2 separate regions of the Homo sapiens genome follow, and region 1 is linked to region 2. The links are contacts of gene promoters, found by promoter capture Hi-C in human tissues and cell types (Jung and others, 2019). All regions are on one chromosome and are shown on one strand. The core of a region is centred on a gene start or on the middle of the fragment in contact, and the rest is flanking DNA. Distances in the headings are between cores, read along the strand shown. Region 1 overlaps RBM6 (RNA binding motif protein 6). Region 2 holds the start of SEMA3F (semaphorin 3F).

Region 1 (5,843 bases), core at 1,228-3,727, 150 kb after region 2:
CCCCATCTTTACGAACAGAGTTTGTTATTTTTTTAATTAGCCGAACATGGTGGCAGGTGCCTGTAGTCCAGCTACTCAGAAGGCTGAGGTGAGAGGATTGCTTAAGCCCAGGAGTTCAAAGCTGCAATGAGCTCTCATCGTACCACTGTACTCCAGCCTGAGCAACAGAACAGAACCCTAAGTCTCAAAAAAATAAAAATTTAAAAATAGGCCAGGCATAGTGGCTCACACCTGGAATCCCAGTGCTTTGGGAGGCCGAGATAGGTAAATTGCTTGAGTCCAGGAGTTCAAGACCAGCCTGGGGAATGTTGCAAAACCCTGCCTCTACAAAAAAAAAAAAAAAAAAATAGCCAGCTGTGGTGGTGGTAGTTCCAGCTACTAAAGAGAACTGAGTTGGGAGGATCACTTCGGCACAAGAGATCGAGGCCGCAGTGAGCCATGATTGTACCACTACACTCCAGCGTAGGTGACAGAGGGAGACCTTGTCTCCAATAAGAGGAGAGGGGAGGGGGGGGAGGGGAGAAAAAGGAAAGAAAAAAAGAAAAAGAAAAAGGAAAGGAAAGGAAAGGGGAAAGGAGAATAAAAATTTCAGAGAAATAAATACCTCTCCCAGAGTTATCTTCTATAAGGGCACTTTAGTGACTAATTTGGCCAAATAATAGACAATAAGCATCACACCAGCATACTTGAGAACATAAAATGCTAATCCCTGCATACCAAATGCCAACAGTCTGAGAGGGCTAGTACTCACAACTGGGCAACCAATGAAAGGGATTAACATTTTAACACAATACTTCTTACTCCCCTCCCCAAGTCCCAGTGCAAGGGCACACAAAGCAGAAGGAAATAATATGTACCCTCAATCTCCCAGAGACTTGACAACAAAGAAAGCCAAGGGCATATGACAGGGCTAGAAATACACTTTGCAGGAAGGGTGGAACGAAAGGCTCTGCCTGACAGTGCTTGCTGGCTGCCCCCTTCTCCTAGACAGAAATGGTGATGGTACAGACTAACAGATTCATACCTTCATACCTGTTGGAAATTATTTCTCCAGATAGACAGCTGCTGCCTAAGTGATACCCTGATCGGTCACCACAGCCACAAAGCTCAGTACTGCTGCAGAGCATCCTACTGTTTAACAGCTTGATCTAGGCACCAGGAAAAGGCTAGAGGGACCTTGGTTATCATCTTGAGCAACTTCACGAAGGCACACATACCCAACAATATTTGACAAAGCAAGCTAGCAGAAAATTCCTTTATTTCCATCCCCTAGGCCTACAAGTACCAGCCAATGATAAATAAAAGACATTTCACATCAAGAGTCGGAATAGCAAAGAGTTACAAAAAAACTCAAAGTACTTCGGAGTAACCTTCTCAGAGGCACACACACACTCAGGCTCTACTAAGAGTTGCCAAGCAGATCGTGGTGACTCAGAATCCATACCAATTTGGTCTGTAAGTAAAACTGGGGGAAAGGATAGACAAAGACTTTTTTTTTTTTTTTTTTTTTTTTAAATTTAGACAGGGTCTCACTATTTACCCCATGCTCATTTCAAACTCCTGGGCTCAAGTGATCCTCCAGCCTTGGTCTCCCAAAGTGGTGGGATTATAAGCTTGAGCCATAGTGCCCGGCCTACAAACACATTTTATCTTCCACAAATATTTATTTTATTTATTTATTTATTTATTCAATTTTATTGTTTTCTTGAGACAGAGTCTTGCTCTGTCAGCAGGCTGGAGTGCAGTGGTGCAATCTTGGCTCACTGCAACCTCCACCTCCTGGGTTCAAGCAATTATCCTGCCCCAGCCTCCCAAGTAGCTGGGACTACAGGCGTGCGCCACCACACCTGGCTAATTTTTTTGTATTTTAGTAGAGACGGGGTTTCACCTTGTTGGTCAGGATGGTCTTGCTCTCCTGACCTCATGATCCGCTCGCCTCAGCCTCCCAAAATATTTACTTTATTCACCCTGAGGAGACAGGACTTCTTCCCTCACATTCTTATGTCTCTCATAAGATTGTTTACTATGTCATAAGGAGTTTAATCCACATCCATTTCCTTAAAGAATTAGTTTTATTAAACTTCAGATATAAAAATAAATTTATTTTCTTATAATTATAATTGAAGGCCAGGCACGGTGACTCGTGCGTGTCATCCCAGCACTTTGGGAGGCCAAGGTGGGCAGATCACCTAAGGTCTGCAGTTCAAGACCAGCCTGGCCAACATAGTGAAACCCCATCTCTACTAATAATACAAAAATTGGCAGGACATGGTGGCTCACGCCTGCAGTCCCAGCACTTTGGGAGGCCAAGGCAGTCGGATCACCTGAGGTCAGGAGTTCCAGACCAGCCTGGCAAACATGGTGAAACCCCATCTCTACTAAAAATACAAAAATTAGCCAGGTGTGGTGGCGGGCACCTGTAATCCCAGCTATTTGGGAGGCTGAGGCAGGAGAATCACTTGAACCCAGGAGGTAGAGGTTGCAATGAGCTGAGATCGTGCCACCGCACTCCAGCCTGGGCAACAGAGCGAGACTCCATCTCAAAAAAAAAAAAAAAGAAAAAAAATTTACCCAAGCATGGTGGCGCATATCTGTAGTCCCAGCTACCTGGGAGGCTGAGACAGGAGGATCTCTGGAACCCGGGTGGCGGAGGTTGCAGTGAGCCAAGATTACGCCACTGCACTCCAGCCTGGCTGGACTCCGTCTCACACACACACACAAAATTTATAATTGGAAATTACTTGACATGTGGAGGAGGGTAAGAGAGAGAAAGAAGGACACTGAATTTCAAATTAATTCAAATGCTACCAAGTGCTAGGTACTATAGTAAGTGTTCTGGATACATTATTCGCCAAGAGTCACAACTTAAATGTATGTCACTCCTCAAGAAGTTTCCCTGACCACCCCTCTAAAATTGCCACCATGATGCATTCTCCCAATACCCTGCTTCATTTTCTTTATAGCACTCAGCTATCAGCTATTACATTGAGTATTTAGCACAGAGGCGAACGACTTAATCACATTCACTGCTTATGAATTAATGAGTGTTCTCAAAATTGGACAGACTGTCAGAATAGGATCCACCGAAAGCACACAGATTGGAAGCTTTTTTCTTCTCTCCAAAATTGGCATGTAGCAGTTTCTGACACATGGTTAGTACAGTTGTCCCTTGGTGTCCACAGGGGATTGGTTCCAGGACCCACAAGGACACAAAAATCTCAGGATGCTCAAGTCCCTTATATAAAATCACATGGTATTTGCATACAACCTACACACATCCTCCAACATACTTTAAACCATCTCTAGATTACTTATATCTAATACCTAATAAAGACTATATAAATAGTTAACTGTACTTTTTTGTTTTTTGAGACGGGGTCTCACTCTGTCACCCCAGGCTAGAGTGCAGCAGAGTGATCACAGCTCACTGCAGTCTCAATCCAGACTCAAGTAATCCTCTCATCTTAGCCTCCCAAGTTGATAGCCACCACACTTGGCTAATTTTTTCACTTTTATTTTTTGTAGAGATGGGGTCTCCCTGTGTTGCCCAGGCTGGTCTCAAACTCCTGGCCTCAAGCAATCCTCCCACCCGGGCCTCCCAAAATGTTGGGATTACAGAGTAAGCCACCACTCCTGGCCTGTATTATTTTTTATTGTTGCAGTGTTAATGCATTTTTTTCCTGAATATGTCCAATCAGCATTTGGTTGAATCTATGGGTGTGGAACCTGTGGATACAGAGTGTCAACTGTATTTGGTAAGTGATTCAGTGATGGACACTGAACAAATGGTCAATGAGAATCCTCTTAAGTCTAGGGGATATGGTCCTAAGCCTGTCATTCTTTAAGGATCTGACAAGCTTAAACTACTAACAAGATAAGGATACATCAAAAGTCTTCTCTAATGAGTGCTTGCTCCCAAAGCATTTAGAGCATGTCATCTCCATACCCATAAGAGGAGAACTTGGCCAAGAAGAGAAAAGTACGTATAATGAGCCACACTGAGTTAAACAAAGCTGAACAAAGCATCAGGCTACAGAAGAAGAAGAGTTCTCATCTAATAACTACTCTTCTCTGGCAGAGCCTTCTTTTAAGATTCTGGGCCTGGCTGGGCACGGTGGCTCATGCCTGTAATCCCAGGACTTTGGGAGGCCGAGGCAGGCAGATCACCTGAGGTCTGGAGTTCGAGAGCAGCCTGACCAACATGGAGAAACCCCATCTCTACTAAAAATACAAAATTAGCCGGCGTGGTGGCGCATGCCTGTAATCCCAGCTACTCAGGGGGCTGAGACAGGAGAATCGCTTGAACCAGGGAGGTGGAGGTAGCAGTGAGCCGAGATCGCACCATTGCAATCCAGCCTGGGCAACAAGAGCAAAACTCCGTCTCAAAAAAAAAAAAAGAAAGAAAGAAAGATTCTGGGCCCACTGTATTCACACTGTTAAGTATAGGCAGTGGGTACATTAAAAAAAAAAAAAAAGAAAAAAAAAACACATCAAACTATATTCCTAAGTTTCTTTTCCTACTTTACAGATGGAGGAACTGAAACAACCCAAAGAAAACAACTTTCCCCAAGGAAGCACCATAACAAGAAGGATTCTACCTATTTATTAATTCCTCTCAAAACTACCAGGTAGGGTTCTATTAAAGACATAGATGAAAAATCTAGGTGGCAAGCTGAGTAACTCCAGATAGTTCAAACGTAAGGTGAGTACAGATTCTGATTCACCAGCTCTGACTATACGCAGCCAAGGACTTGAGTATGCAACTCCAATTGGCAAAAAACAATGATGAATGCAATAGACACCAACAATCCACTCCTCTCTCTTCCCTGATAGCTCTCTTTTGGAAGTAGCCCCTGCAGGCAGGATCTGATGCCACAGAAGTCACCATCAGAGGTCTTCACCCTAGGTCTGGGTGTAACTATTGACCTAGAATTTCTGTGCTAGGCAGATCCTTGGGGTCACAGACAATCAAGGATCATTCTTTGCATCAGGATTACCATCTCAGTCACACTCCAAAAGGAAACACTCCAGATGTGTCTTTTTTTTTTTTTTCCAACTATTGTCTTTGGAATCTAGTCCAAAAGCAACTGGGCTCTAGCTTTTAAAATGCACTCTGTGCCCATTAAGTTTTGTAGAGAAAGCTTTCCAGCCTTTTTAAAGATTTTCCTCACAACCGATGGTTGGAATACAGTATGCTCCACAGATAGACTTCTTGTACCTTTCCAAAGTAAAATCATTTGAAACCCTCCCTCCCCATATATAAAAAAATATATCCTTCCAGCATCATTTGACCGAAGTATAAAGCAACCTGGTTGGCCTCCATGCATCCGATGGCATCTTCCAAGAGTGAAAACTCCACGCAGACATAGCCATAGTCGTAACCTGGGGACAGCATTTAAATACAGACGGGAGTGGTGTTAGTGCCTTGCAAACACAAAAGACACACTTAAATCCCCTGTTTCTGAACCCCTTAAACACAAGCCCTCCCAACTAACCCCTCCCTCCCCTACACTAGGTAAAGTTGCTACCCCAAATAGAAAAAAGTATTGAAGAAAAGTCTCGATGTTTCTGGACTTTGAGATTCATTCCAAAACAGCCTTTTCTATTAACCAAGAAGATCCTTTGCCCTCTTTAGCACTGGTGATCTGGTGAAGGTACCCCAGAATTGGGTAATCCCACAGAGAGTTCACGTGGGGACCCGAAACATTTTAACCACAGGCTAAATCTTCTGGAAAAACAAAGTCGACAAGAGCAAGAAAGTATCTGGAAAAAAAAAAAAAAAAAGGTATCCCGAGAGAAGAAAAAAAAGCAATTATCCCCAGGCTATGCTAATAGTCACCACT
Region 2 (6,004 bases), core at 3,391-5,890:
GGAAGATGCCCAGACTCTGGACTCTTTTGCTAAGTGTCTAAATGGGTCAGTTCTCCAGCCTTTCCCAGCAAGCCACCACCTCCCCGGTCTCCCTTCTCCCCCACAACCTATGTGGCTGTACAATTTGTCCTGGTTTTGTCCTGACCCACCCTTTCTCTCGTGTGCAGAGGAGCCGAGCGCTATTGTAAAGAGAGGATGATTTCTGGGGAAGAACAAAACAGCTTCTTACCTTTGAATGAGAGCCGGACCCGGGGCGTGGCCGGGAGGTGGTCCTGGGTGGGGAAGGATGGCCAGGCCCCGGTCAGTAGGGAAGCCCAGAGAAGAAGACCGGCGACAAGCATTGTGGGAGGGGCCTAGGGCCCAGGAAGCAGGCTCCACTCTCTAGAAACCTGGGAAGGGGAACCAAGATTGGAATGTGTGAGGCAGATGGGGGAGTTCAATTTCTACCCAAGGTGAACAAAGAGGTTGATGGGTACCTCCACGCTTCCACCCCCAGCCTGGGGCCATGAATGCCCCTGTGTGCACACCTCATGTGCGTTCTTTGGCCTGCCTTTGTCTGGGGAGATAGTACCAATAGGCCCCAGCCTGGGGTCACCAGAACTGATGGGGGCTGCTGGAGACTCAAACCCTACCCCTCATGGCATGCTGAATTCCATTCACAGGGCCCAGACCAACCAGGTGATCTTAGGGCTCTTTCCAGCTCCCAGCATGCTTTCTCCTTTCTCCCCTGCATCTGTGGCCAATAAAGTGGGTTACTCCTTCTCCCTCCCACCTGGAGGAATGGGGAACAGATAGGGTGCATCCCTGCCTGCTCCAGCCACAGGTCTTCTCCCAGTACAGAGAAACCTGGACCTGATTATTACGGTAGAGGGGAGGCACAGGAGAGAGTGGGGGAATGAGACACATGCAGACAGCCCAAGATGGAAGAGAGGGAGCACCAGTCAGAAAAGGAAAGGCAGAGAATGGCAGAGTCCACTTGTACTAAAATCAAAGCAGGAGAGACCCAGGTCAGACAGGCAGAAGGACTTCCTGCCAGGGAAAACTTCCAGCTCCGCCTCTAGAGGGCAAAGAAGGGAAGCTAGGATGGCCAGTGGGCCTGGGGCTGGATCTGGGCCAGCGGCATTGCCACCTTCAGAATCCCCCATAGCCCCAGCAGGTCCAAGTTTCAATACTGTGTTTTTCAAATATTGTCTCCCCAGGCAGGCTGGCTGTTGGGTAAACGCAGCCCAGCACCAGTTGTCAGAACATATTGCTCCCTCCCGGCACAAACCAGCGCCAACTCCTACCACCACCCCCAACCGGATGCACTGCGGGTGGGGGCATCGAGACTGAAAATGTGAGCCCCATCCCCCAGATCTGCCCTGTGTACTCCCTTCTTCCGTGGCAGGCAGGACCCCAGGCCCATCTCTAGGATGCTGGGATGGGAGTTGGCAGTACTATGGCCTGGGACTCCCCTGCCATAGCTGCTCAATGCTGAGGCAAAGCCCAGGCTCCAGTCTGACTCTTAGGCCCCACTCATTAGACCCTGATGACATCCCTAGACCCACCTCCCCCAGCCCTGGCCTCTCCTGCCAAGGCAAACCACTCATGGCTCCTCAGACAGGAAGTGCAGCTTCAGCCTCTTGGCCCACTCCTTACGCGGTACCCTCTGTGTGAATGTTCTCTCCCGAGGGCCTGGCACACCGCTCATGGTCCTTCCAGATCCCCTGTCATAGATGCTGCCTCCTGGGGAGGCTAGCTGGGGGATGGGGGAATCAGAACCAGCCCCTCCTCAGGTCTGGGAGGCACAAAGCTAGTGCTGACTGAATGGCAGGCTCTGAGAAGTGGGGGCAGGTGGGAGAAATGGCTGTGCAGCCACCGTCACCCTCAAGGTGCACCTGGGAGGCCCCTGATAACAGCTGTGGATATGCACACGTTCACACTTGCAGGCCCACACACGTCCTTACAAGCATGAGTTTGCTCAAGAACTTGACCTGCTAGTGGGGTGGGGCTCAGGGGAGCTGGGAGATACTGTCCTGGCGCAAGATGCCGTCTGAGTCCCTCAGAGAGCTTCGATACTATGTAACGGGGGCTCCTGTCAACCTGCCTCCCGCCTCCCCCCTCCCCATGACCTCATTTTTTCCTTCATCCATGTTCATGGTGACAAAGTCAGTGTCACCAAGGACAGGGTTGGAGTCACCCAATGTGTCCAGAGAGGTGGGGAGTCTTTCTACTGGGTCCCTACAGGGACTTCCCATCCAAATGCTTTGGCCTTTTAAAGAGGTGAATGGGGAGGGGCTCAAGTTTGCTGGGGCCTCAGTCTCAAGTCCAGGTCCCCTCTTGGACAGCCTGGCAGGTGGGGGAAAGAAGGAGAGGGAAGGAAGAAAAGGAGAAGAAGGACAGAGAGGGAAAGAAAGGGCAAACCCACAGTGCCTTCCCCTCTGCCAGTCCCGAGATGCCTGTCACCCAGCCCCAGCCCCAGAAAAGCCCCCAAGTCACACCAAGCCCAGGTCAGTGGACAGAGGAAGAACAGCCACCGCCACCTGGGAGCCCACCAGGAAGAAAGCAGAGAAGGAGGGAAGGAAGGCTGGTGGGAGGGAGCAAGGGAGGGAGGCAGGCGGGAGGGAGGAGGAGAGAGGGAGGAGAGAGGGAGGGACGGAGGAGAGACGCTTGAACAAAGAAACGAGGAGCCGGGGCTGGCAAGGGGTGCAGGGAAGAGGCGGCCAGAGGAAGGAGTCCGGAGGCACCTGGGATGGGACAGGGGGCCAGGTGGCCAAACTGTACAGCCGGATCCAGACCGCCCAGGCTTGGAGTTGGGGGTGGGGGTGGACAGCCTGTCTCCAGGAAGGGAGGTTGGCTCCTCCGAGCTGAGGACTGCCTGGATGGAAGGGAGGCAGGAACAGGGGCCGTAGGGGAACATGGGGAGATTATCAACAGCACCCCACCCGCTACCCAGCCCCTCAGATTCCCTCCCCCACTTCAACAAGAGCTCTGTCTCCTTCTTGGCTCCTCAGCTTCCCCATCCCCCAACACCTCAAGGACCAGGAAGCAGAGCCACCCCAGCATAGCTGGGACTGAAACCCCCCTTTTGTGGCCAGGGTTTCCCAGTCAAGGTCACCTGAGCCTGGCTCCATCCTCCCCCCAAGGTATGCTGAGCAGCGAGGGGCTGAGGCTGGGTGGGCTGCCGCCTTCTCTCTGGCCCCTGCTTTCTCTCCGGCCCCCACCTCCCCACTTCCGGGCCTGGCTCCTTCGGAGCTGAAGGGGGAGCAGCAGGAGTAGGCATGCCTGTGCCCCCCGCCTGCCTAGACACTATACCCTACGGGGTCCTGGCACACCCCTTGGGTAGCCTGGGAAGAGGCCTCAGCTCCATCCAACTCCCTGGGCTGAGATGGGGCTCCCAACCCCTGGGTGCAGTTTTCCCTTCTCTGCAACTAGGATAACTACTGGGAGACTATCTGGGTGAATTCAGGAGGACAGAGGTCCCCAACCTGGCCCAGCTTCAGGGTGGACATACTGGTGTCTTTGGTTGGCGTCTCCCTTACCTCTCCCAAGCAGTAATGTTCTGGTGGCAAAACACAGCTATCTCAAAAATTAGGAGTTATTTATCCAGTGGGGCCCCCAGCCCCAGCTCCAGCCAACTCCCGCCAGCACTGCCTCATTCCTAGGCCAACTTTGATACCCTCCTGTCCCATCTGCTGGGGGCAACCCCGCCAAGCCCCCGCTGTCCCCTGCCCACTTCACCACTGGGACCCCTGGTTCAAACTAGGGATTGACCGCAGGCTCTCCAAGCTCACCTACACACTACATACAGCCGTGCCCCTAATCCAGGCAGGACTCTGCTGTAAAAGCAAACCCAAGGTGGCAGCTGGGGGTCAAGGGGCTGGCACAATGCTGGGAGAAATGCCTCAGGACTGGAGGTCCTCCCACTCTGCTGATGTGGGAGACCCCCCACGTGGGGACTGCCAGTATACCGCTTCCCTTCGGGCTGGCCAGTCCTCAAGTAGAGACACTGAGGTAGGGCAAGCGCATCTACGGGGAAGAGCGCTGCCTCGGGCGTTAATGGGAGAGAGAGCTGAGGCAGAAGGGGGATCGGAACTCCCGCTCCAGAAGCGTGAAGGTGGGGGTGTATGAGAGCACCCACCCAGAACCTTGCAGGAAAAAGTTGCTTTGCACATGGGTGACCCCGCAGGCCACATCATCCACACATCCATACGCCGCCCCGTAGGTAAGGGGTCCGGGCCTCCAGGACAGGTAAGAATCCCACCCCAGCCTTGTTGCCCCTATGTCCGCGGGCAGCCCCCCGGCTCGACGAGACCCGCTCCCCGGACACTTCTGCGGAGTTGCAGTGCCGCGGGTCCCAGAGGGGTCGCGGGGTGGCCCGGCCGCCTGCCCGCTCCCTCCCGGTTCCCGCTGCACTCACCTCTTCCGCAGCGGCGGGGCCTGGGCGCCCGGGCGGCGGCGGCGGCACGGAGCGGCTCCCGTTGGGCCGGTCCGCGCTAGCGGCCCCCCGGGGCCATGGCCCTGCCCGCGACCTCTCGCCGCTGCGCCTCAGCCGGGATCGGCGCCGCGGCCGCGGCTTAACCGGTTCCGCGGGCTTCGGGCGCGTCAGCAGCCGAGGGCCCGGGCCCCAGCCCGGGCCATGGGAAGGCTCAGGGGCGCTCGGGGCCGCCTCCCCTGGGGTGGGCTGCGGGCGCCCCCTGGCCGGCGCGCCGAGGGCGCATTCCCCAGCGCGGGGCGCGGGCGGTGGCGCGCACTCGGCTTCGAAGCGCTGCGCTCTCCTGGCTGCTGGACCCGGGCCGGGCGGCCGCGCTGGGCTGCACGGTTCCTCGCGGCGTACCCAGGTCCTGCGCTGCGCTCGGGGCTCTCCGGACCGCCGCGGTTCGTTCGCTCGCTCTGGTCTCGCGGCCGCCGGCGGGACGGGGCGCTCAGAGCCGCGCGGGGAGCGCCGGCAATTGGCCGCCCGTGGGCGACATTTGCATAGCGCAGCCCCGCCCCGCCCGGCCCGCCCAGCCCCACCCCCGGGGCGGGACCCGCCCAGCCACCGCCCCGCCCCCGCTCCACCTGTCCGTGGGCCGGGCTCAGGGTTCCCAGGCGGTGGGCACCCCGCGCCGGGGGAGACTAGTCTGCACCCCTCGCCCCCGCCCCCGCTTCGCGGGCGGCGCCCCCGCCCCGCCCTGGCTTTGTCTCTCTGTGAATACACCGCACACATCGCGCCTGGTGTTTACCCGGGCATTCAACTCCCTGGCGAGAAGGGCTGCAGCGCCAGGGAGCAACGAGCCTGCGCTCACCTGAGCACCCCCTTCCGCGTCCCTCATTCCCACTCGCCGCCGGCCGTGCCCCTGGTCCCGTGCGTGGGCCCCGCGGCGCAGGACCCCTGACTGCCCGGGCTGCTCAGCAGGTGGCGGTGCAGCCCCTGGGACGGCTGGCACCGCCGGACCTTCCCGCGGGCTCAGCCTCCAGCCTAGGCCAGGTCGGGGGCAGCCCAGCCACACAGCTCTCTCCAGCCATTCAACGACTCCCCGTGATCGCCTCAATCGCCAGCCCTTATTTCAGGCCAGCAGCTCCCACAGACTCTCCTTATAGTTCCATACCTTAGAGAGGCCAGATCAGCTAGCACCTTCTCTCCTCAAGGGGACATTTGCTTTCAAATGGCCTGGTGATGAGCCAATGGCTCAGCAACTGAGAAGGGCCTACCGTGACCCCAGGAAGGGACCCTCTGCCCAACCCAACTTTCCAAGGTCATGGCCTCACCACCAGGACCACTTCTCAGCCCTGCCCCGGGCACCCTGCGGAGGCTCCCAGGGGCGTTGGCCCTTTGTCCTCTCCTTCATCCTCTTCCTGTTCTGTCTTCTGTGCCCTCCTCTTTCTCCTCTTTCCTTTCTCCTCTTCTCCCTCTGCCTCTCCTTCCTTCTCCCCTCTCTTCTCCCTCTTCCTCTCTCCTCTTCTCCCTCTTTTCCATCTCCCTCCTTTTCCTCCTTCTCCTCTCTTCTCCTGGATTTTTCCTTCTCTGCCCTCTCCTCCTCTC

Evidence for each region. Contacts are between HindIII fragments. The study calls those that stand out against the background at their distance.
Region 1: a fragment that was not itself captured here is called in contact with the fragment with the promoter of SEMA3F in region 2 in 2 of the 25 tissues and cell types used here (IMR-90 fibroblasts and dorsolateral prefrontal cortex).

What each region holds. Positions count from the first base shown.
Region 1 is chr3:49,998,979-50,004,821 of GRCh38, reverse strand. RBM6 (RNA binding motif protein 6) reads right to left here. Exons shown (of 21, transcript NM_005777.3): 6 at 5,309-5,382. Among named protein-coding and RNA genes, the nearest start is that of RBM6, 62 kb to the right of the region's middle. The HindIII fragment of the contact is 4,044 bases long and covers 456-4,499 here.
Region 2 is chr3:50,153,960-50,159,963 of GRCh38, reverse strand. It overlaps SEMA3F (semaphorin 3F), which reads right to left and starts at 4,640. Exons shown (of 19, transcript NM_004186.5): 1 at 4,400-4,640; 2 at 230-389. The coding sequence starts at 341. LOC124909484 (basic proline-rich protein-like) reads right to left here and starts at 5,294. Exons shown (of 2, transcript XM_047449434.1): 1 at 5,268-5,294; 2 at 4,175-4,903. The coding sequence starts at 5,294. The coding sequence ends at 4,175. It overlaps SEMA3F-AS1 (SEMA3F antisense RNA 1), which reads left to right and starts at 3,879. Exons shown (of 4, transcript NR_135301.1): 1 at 3,879-4,230. RefSeq lists silencers at 4,656-5,125, 5,156-5,295, 5,306-5,365. The HindIII fragment of the contact is 29,271 bases long and covers 1-6,004 here.